Linked DNA regions of Homo sapiens: region 2 is linked to region 1. Evidence: promoter capture Hi-C in human tissues and cell types (Jung and others, 2019). All regions are on one chromosome and are shown on one strand. Each heading gives the region's core, a stretch centred on a gene start or on the middle of the fragment in contact. The rest is flanking DNA. Distances are from core to core; before and after follow the strand shown. Region 1 holds the start of TRY-GTA4-1 (tRNA-Tyr (anticodon GTA) 4-1). Region 2 holds the start of RNASE2 (ribonuclease A family member 2).

Region 1 (3,724 bases), core at 662-3,161:
AAAGTATTAATTTGGGGAACTAATAAATGTCCATAAAATCTTCACAATCCACATTCTTCTCTCATGGCTTCAGCCGGTCCCTCTGTTTGGGGTCCCTGACTTCCCGCAACACCACTACCCCAAGACCACTGGGACACCCACCCCCCAGCTGAACACCTACTGGAGGTGCAGCAAGCCACATCCAAGGAACCTGGCCACCATTGAGTTTAAGTCCACTCCCTGTCTTATGGCAAGTGGGTCTGGATCTCTGAGGGCAAGGGTCAGATGCTCACAGAACCCAGCTACTCTGTCATGGCTCAAACAGGAAGAGTTGGTACCCAGGTTTCAACCTTGCTTGTGCTGGCCACCAAAGCCCATTCACTGGCTCACCTCTGATTTTCCCACCAAAACACTAAACAGAGGTTCCGAAGAACCTGGGGGTCTCTATATCCCATCATGAACTTATCCAATAAGGGACAAAGGTACTACATTTCGTCTGTGTTCGCTAGCCTCTGCCTTTGGTGTCATTGGAGGCAGGGATCTCTCTGTGGCTCCAAAGCCATAGAATCATCCTGGGCACTGGCGATGCCACAGCTTGGCCTCCTTCTGTTAGCAATGAGAAGCAGGAAAGGCTGACAAAGCCAGGGGAACATTGGGGGAAATAGGGAGGTGGAGGGAGATCAGGAGCTGCTTCCCAAGAAAGACCTGTGTAGTCTTCAGTTTGAGACCTGCAATGAAACAGCTCTTGTGGCCACAGCAGGTAGTGGAGGCAGGTGTCCCAGTCCCCAGAGGGTTTCAGAGGGCCACGTTCCCATGGGCCATTTGGCTTGGAGTGCTCTCTGTGATAGGTTGCATGTGCGCATCAAATCTCTGGAGATTTTTTCTGAGATGGTGAGATGAGACCAAGGAACGCTTGTTGGCTTTCTTCTCTGCCCCATACCCACAGAACCCACTCCATCTCCCTGGAGGTGTAACCCCTGTTCGTTGGAGAAAACCTAAGTCCATTTCCTACTTCATTCTCTCTGATTAGGCCTCAGCACTTTTTCCTTTGGGGTGAGGGTAGAGTCCAACTGTGCCTCTAGTCCCAAAGCTCCAAACTGCTCAGACCCACCAGGCAGTGGCCTAAGGCAGCGAATTCGTGTGCCTCTGTATAATGACAGCTGTCACTCAAGCTTTACTTCTGCTCCCTGCCATGGACCCAACAGCCTCTAACTCTCCAGGATCACTGAAGCTCTTTTCCAGCCTGCACTTTTGTACTCCCCTTCCATCTCCCTTACCCTCTCAAGTAGCAGGGCACTCAACACAGGTGTTTTTGCTGGCTTTGAACTGAATATTAGGTCCTTTCTTTTCTAGCAGGGGCCAAACTCCGCTGTAGCAGCATGAAAAGTTGTGAAGGCTCAGAAAAAGTGAGGCTTGAGGGATTTGGGAAAAGCTATGGGGATAGGGGATAGACTCACCTTGTCCTCAACCTAAAGGGCAACCTGACCTTGCTAATGGAAGTTCTTAGGATTAGGAAATTCTCAGGGTGACAGCTGTCTCCCCAAAGTAGACACAGCAAAGTGGGAATGAACATTTTCTTTACGCCTGTATAGGTCTATACATTTCCAGCCAAGGAGAATGAGAGGGGCAGGCTGAGGGCTCAGGGAAGAGAGATAGGGAGGCAGAGACACAGAGACAAAGAGAAATATACAGAGACAGAGAAACGGTGAAAGAGAGAAAGAGAATGAGACAGAGACAAACATGAGACTGTCAGATCTCAATGCAGTGATAAAGAGCCTGAGATGGATGAGAGTGAGAGGGTGAGTTTTCACGGAAGATACCACGGTTATCCCCACTTTACACCCTTGTCAAGTAAGCTTGACGTTCTCCAGGGAACTTGACCTTCCAGGCTTTGCCCACCTGGTCAGGAGAGCTCTGTCAAAGGTGAGCACAGCGGTTTTGTCACAGCCAGTGGAGATGCTCAAGCTCGAGAGCAGTCTGTGAAGAAAAGCGAAGGAGCACAGGGTGGGGAAGTAGTGGTCAGCATGAATAGAGGGATTAGTGGGGTCACAAAGTAGAAGCAAGGCGTGGGAAGCTAGGTGATCAGGAAAGACTTCGTGGGTGTTTTGCCCGGGAGAGTGTGGTTACTACTTGGAAGCTGCAGGGCTTTTAACCAAAAGCATCACGCACTTCCTTCGAGCTGGAATCGAACCAGCGACCTAAGGATGTCCGCAAATGTCTATACAATCTACAGTCCTCCGCTCTACCAGCTGAGCTATCGAAGGATGCATGCTATCAAAGCTGGTTCATTGGACTTTCTGCAAACAGAGGGAGCCACATCCCTGGAATGCTTGAGGTCCAATACGCGTTGGGTTGGTTGGCACCCACCTTGGAAGAGAACCCTGCGCCGCTTGACACCACACCCCTTTCAGGGCGGAGCAAATCCTCTGGGCGAGGATGCCTGGTGTCTCTCGGGCTCTGATAGCCACCATCCACGAGGAGGAGCTCTCATCTGTGACAGCCTTCCTCTCCCTGAGCATCCACCTTTCTACAGGTGAGGATGACAGCCCCCAGTGGCCTGAGAGAAAATGAGAAGGTGAGTCAGCGAGGGCACAGGGATTGGCGAGGTGGTTGGGTGGGTCTAGTCGGGGAGAGAACGCTGGAGGAGGAAAAGAGGAGAACCCTAATGGGCGCTGGATAGGCAGCTGACAACTCCAACCCAACCTCAGAGTCTGGTGCAGGTCTCTAATGGGCGCTTCCATAATAGTCTGGCCTCTCTACTCCCTCCCCTACCACACACACAGGGCCCTCCTCCCCAGGTGCCCCGCCCTTCTCCTCATAGTAGTCTATGCTCACATTTTGGTGCATTGAGGTGCACTGGGAAGTGAGGTGAGGAAATCTCTCCCAGGCTTGCAGAGGCACATGTGAGATACCCTCTTCTGCAAACAGGCTGAGAATTCCAATCAGAAGCTGCTGATTTCTGAAGTAGGGCAAAGTTCTGTGGGTTTCTTTGAAAAACAAGAAGCCAGGTAGAGGACAGAAGTGTGAGCTTTGGACTCCTTATCCTGAACCCACATCTTTGACAAAAGTTTCAGATCCCATCTGGTGTGTGCCCACCACTCCGAGACCACTGAGGCACCCTCTCTGCAGCAGAACACCTAGAGGAGGACAGGAAGCCACACCCACGGGACCTAGCCTCCATTGAGTTTATGTCCACTTCCTGTCTTATGGCAAGTGGGTGTGGATCTCCGAGAGTGAGGATCAGATCCTCACAGACATCCTGCTACTCTCTGCCATGGCACAGCTGGGAAGAGTGGGCACCTGGGCTCACCTTCACTTGTGCCAGCCACCAAACCCATTTGTTGGCTCACCTCTGGTTTTTCCCCAAAGCACTGAGCAAAGGTTCCAAGGGCTCTGGTGACTCCACGCCCCATCAGGAATATATCCAATGAAGGCCTGAGGTGCTACCTTTGGTCCCTCTTTGTTAGCTGGTCTTTGCCTTTGGTGTCATTGGAGCTGGGGTCTCTCTGTGCCTCCAGAGCCATAGAAGCATCCCAGAGCACTGGTGACACCAAAGAAGAAAGGTTGACACAGTCGGGGTGACGTGGGGGAGAATAGGCGGTGGCGGGATACCAGGAGCTGCTTTCCATGTGAAAAAGATATGTGCAGTAATATGTGCAGTATCCAGTTTGAGAGGCACAATTAAACAGTTCATGTGGACCCAGCAGGTAGTAGATGGGGCAAGCCAGTCCTAAGCAGGCTTCAG
Region 2 (3,724 bases), core at 443-2,942, 300 kb after region 1:
CCAGGTACCTGCCCTGGGGCTGCAGTCTATGTCTTTTGCCTCATACTATAGACACTTGAGTGCAAGTCTTTCTACCCAGTGTGTCTGTCAGCATCACAGAGCGGATACTCTACGTATCATTCACCTTTACATTCTCATCACCTGCAAAAATGATCTCCACACAATATACATGAAAAAAGAATTTGCTTCATGATAAAGCTGCTAATGAATGTCGGCCAGAAGAGGACTTCAAGGCAGAGCAATATTAGCTGCGCATTGAGTCCTCACTGGGTCACCATTGTGTCCACATTTACCTAAGGACCCCAGTGATAAAATTATTGCATTTCTAAATGACAGGAAAATTGGATGGTAGTAAAAATTATGTAGATTAACTGTTGGAAGGTATATTATATCATTTAAGGGTCTAATATCAATTTTCTAATCTGAAAGCTAGACCAGATTTAACATCTCTTAGTACTCAGGTCTTACCACTGCAATTCACTTCCCACCTCTGTACAATTTCCCCACATCATCCCCTGTGCCCAGAATGCTCATCTCTTCCCTAAAGTCCCTGAAAACTCCCTGCTTATCTTTTAGGGCCCTGCTGAAATCAAACTTTTTTTTTTGAAGTCTTCCTTGTCCCTCAAGCCAAGTGATTTCCTTCACCCTCGGCGTCCCCATGAAACCATGTTCACACAAGTGTAATACAATTATGTGTCTACAATTACTTTCCTGTATGTCTCTGAGGGCCAAGAATAAATGTATGCTTTGTGTATCAAACTGTACACTTGACCTCTATACTTTCAGGAATACAGTGCTCTGTCCTTAAATGTTCATTTGTAAATACAGAACCATTTTCTTGTTAATATCACAAAATGAAACTTACCAGGAAGATGAATGACAACCCCAGAACACAGTGTTTTGTAGAAAATACCATAGGCTGAAAAGATCACAGGAATACCGAGTGCTAGGTTGGAATCTTTCATGACACCAAATGTTCATTCATTCTCTGCCAGACTTTACAACTGTCCTCGGTGTGTTTTTAGGTTGTGTAACTTTACACAAAGTGGAAGCAATAATCAGGGCAAGACTTAAGAGAAAGTGGATCCAATGCAAGAGGAGTAAAGAAAAAAATCCCTCAAGTATGTGTAGCAGATTGTTTTAATTATCTACAGAATCTTGTGCCCTAAGAAATTAATAGCTCAAGTTTCCAGCAAGAGTGGTGGATGAGATGGAGAGCATTTGTGTGAGAGAGAACCAAGGATATTACTAAAAATGAAAGGGAAGCTGGGTTTCTCCTGGGCAAACAGCCCTCAGTGGCTCTATTTGTTCTAACTACTATGCCTGCCTTCATGTACTTTGGTCATTTAGTGGCCTGCCAGAGGACAGTTATAAAATCTGTGGTCATTCTGCAGGCAGCATATAGTTTTCATCCAGAGTTTGGATCTAACCAGCAAAACTCTGTCTTACACAGGATGACTTGGAATTAGAGTCCTTATAGCAGAAAGAGCAGCAGGGCTGTCCTTGGGTATCCGTTGCTCAGCCAAGTCATCAAATAAAAAGGATGATTGCACAAGTGGACTATGTACCAATCTGTGGGTTTCTGCATGGCCAAGAGCCAGACCCTCCCTCTGGGCTCTGCTGGCCCAACCCACCAAGGGATGCTTTATTTAAACAGTTCCAAGTAGGGGAGACCAGCTGCCCCTGAACCCCAGAACAACCAGCTGGATCAGTTCTCACAGGAGCTACAGCGCGGAGACTGGGTAAGTCAACGATCCCCAGAGCTGGGACAGAAGGGGCAGCAATGGGGCAGCAACTGAGGGAGAAGAGAGCTGACGTTAGTGCTTAGGAGACGTTGCACACTTTGCAGACAGGAAGTAAAGGAAATGGGACCCCAGAGTGGCCGCAGAGGGGCCTGTGGGGTAAGACACTACAGTGTGTGTCATAACCAAGACCCGATCAGGGAGTAGTTACTTCTCTTCTTTTCTTACAGGAAACATGGTTCCAAAACTGTTCACTTCCCAAATTTGTCTGCTTCTTCTGTTGGGGCTTCTGGCTGTGGAGGGCTCACTCCATGTCAAACCTCCACAGTTTACCTGGGCTCAATGGTTTGAAACCCAGCACATCAATATGACCTCCCAGCAATGCACCAATGCAATGCAGGTCATTAACAATTATCAACGGCGATGCAAAAACCAAAATACTTTCCTTCTTACAACTTTTGCTAACGTAGTTAATGTTTGTGGTAACCCAAATATGACCTGTCCTAGTAACAAAACTCGCAAAAATTGTCACCACAGTGGAAGCCAGGTGCCTTTAATCCACTGTAACCTCACAACTCCAAGTCCACAGAATATTTCAAACTGCAGGTATGCGCAGACACCAGCAAACATGTTCTATATAGTTGCATGTGACAACAGAGATCAACGACGAGACCCTCCACAGTATCCGGTGGTTCCAGTTCACCTGGATAGAATCATCTAAGCTCCTGTATCAGCACTCCTCATCATCACTCATCTGCCAAGCTCCTCAATCATAGCCAAGATCCCATCTCTCCATATACTTTGGGTATCAGCATCTGTCCTCATCAGTCTCCATACCCCTTCAGCTTTCCTGAGCTGAAGTGCCTTGTGAACCCTGCAATAAACTGCTTTGCAAATTCATCTGAAAGTGTCTGTGTGTCTTCATTAGCCGCTCTGCTGTCATTTAGTGACAATCTACTCTAGAGATTTTTCTTCCTCTAACCTGAGACTTCCGGGAAACAGAGAGATTTGAAGATAAGAGACGCTTTCTGTCATGAAACAGCACAGTCTTATCCCTCTCCCTGCTTTAGGCTGAGAAGCTGAGGTCTCAACCGATATCTAGCAACTGTCGAAGACTCTTGCTTTGATCAAGCTTTAGTCATCTCCTCTAAACCCTCTTCACAACTAGGTCATCCTGTTGGGCTTCCTAGTCCTTCCTTGTAGAGTCATTTGTATTTATTTTTTATTTTATTTTATTTTATTTTATTTTATTTTATTTTATTTTATTTATTTTATTTTTTGAGACAGAGTCCCGCTCTGTCGCCCAGACTGGAGTGCGTGGCGAGATCTCAGCTCACTGCAAACTCCACCTCCCAGGTTCAAGCTATTCTCCTTCCTCCGCCTCCCGAGTAGCTGGGATTACAGTTATGCACCATCATACCCAGCCAATTTTTGTAATTTTTAGAGAGGGGGTTTCAAGATGTTGGCCAGGCTGGTCTCCAGCTCCTGACCTCAGGCAATCCGCCCTCCTCAGCCTCCCAAAGTGCTGGGATTAGAGGCATGAGCCACCAGTGCCAGACCTAAAGTCAGGTTTAACAGAAGTCCTCCTAACTTGGTTTATCATGAGTCTCTCACCCTCAATATTTGACCAAATTCCTTAATTCCCCCATCATCCTCCATGTGATAACTGATTCCTGACCTACCTTCAAAAAACAAAAATCCAATTACATCAACTTAGCATTGGTCTCCCTAGCCTTGATATCTCCTCTAGGTAATTTTCCATCCACTGACCCCTTCCCGACACCAACCTATAACGAGTATAGATCTCCACTTGTTTTAGTTGTATTTCACAATTGAGCCCAATTTGATACTGAGGTCCTATATGATGCTCTATGGTTGAAGTCTGGTTTTTATTGACATGATTTCTATCCCAAGAGATATAGGGGCTGCAGTGAAAAAGCTGAAAATGCACATGTTTCATTATGATTTATGAATGATAAATT

Evidence for each region. Contacts are between HindIII fragments. The study calls those that stand out against the background at their distance.
Region 2: a contact is called between the fragment with the promoter of RNASE2 here and a fragment that was not itself captured in region 1, in 1 of the 25 tissues and cell types used here (adrenal gland).

Annotation. Positions count from the first base shown.
Region 1 is chr14:20,655,315-20,659,038 of GRCh38, forward strand. It overlaps TRY-GTA4-1 (tRNA-Tyr (anticodon GTA) 4-1), which reads right to left and starts at 2,243; the gene lies at 2,150-2,243. It overlaps LOC124903281 (a long non-coding RNA gene), which reads left to right. Exons shown (of 2, transcript XR_007064059.1): 2 at 2,391-3,724. The HindIII fragment of the contact is 3,874 bases long and covers 1-3,724 here.
Region 2 is chr14:20,953,795-20,957,518 of GRCh38, forward strand. RNASE2 (ribonuclease A family member 2) reads left to right here and starts at 1,693. Exons shown (of 2, transcript NM_002934.3): 1 at 1,693-1,742; 2 at 1,973-2,642. The coding sequence starts at 1,978. The coding sequence ends at 2,463. The HindIII fragment of the contact is 15,094 bases long and covers 1-3,724 here.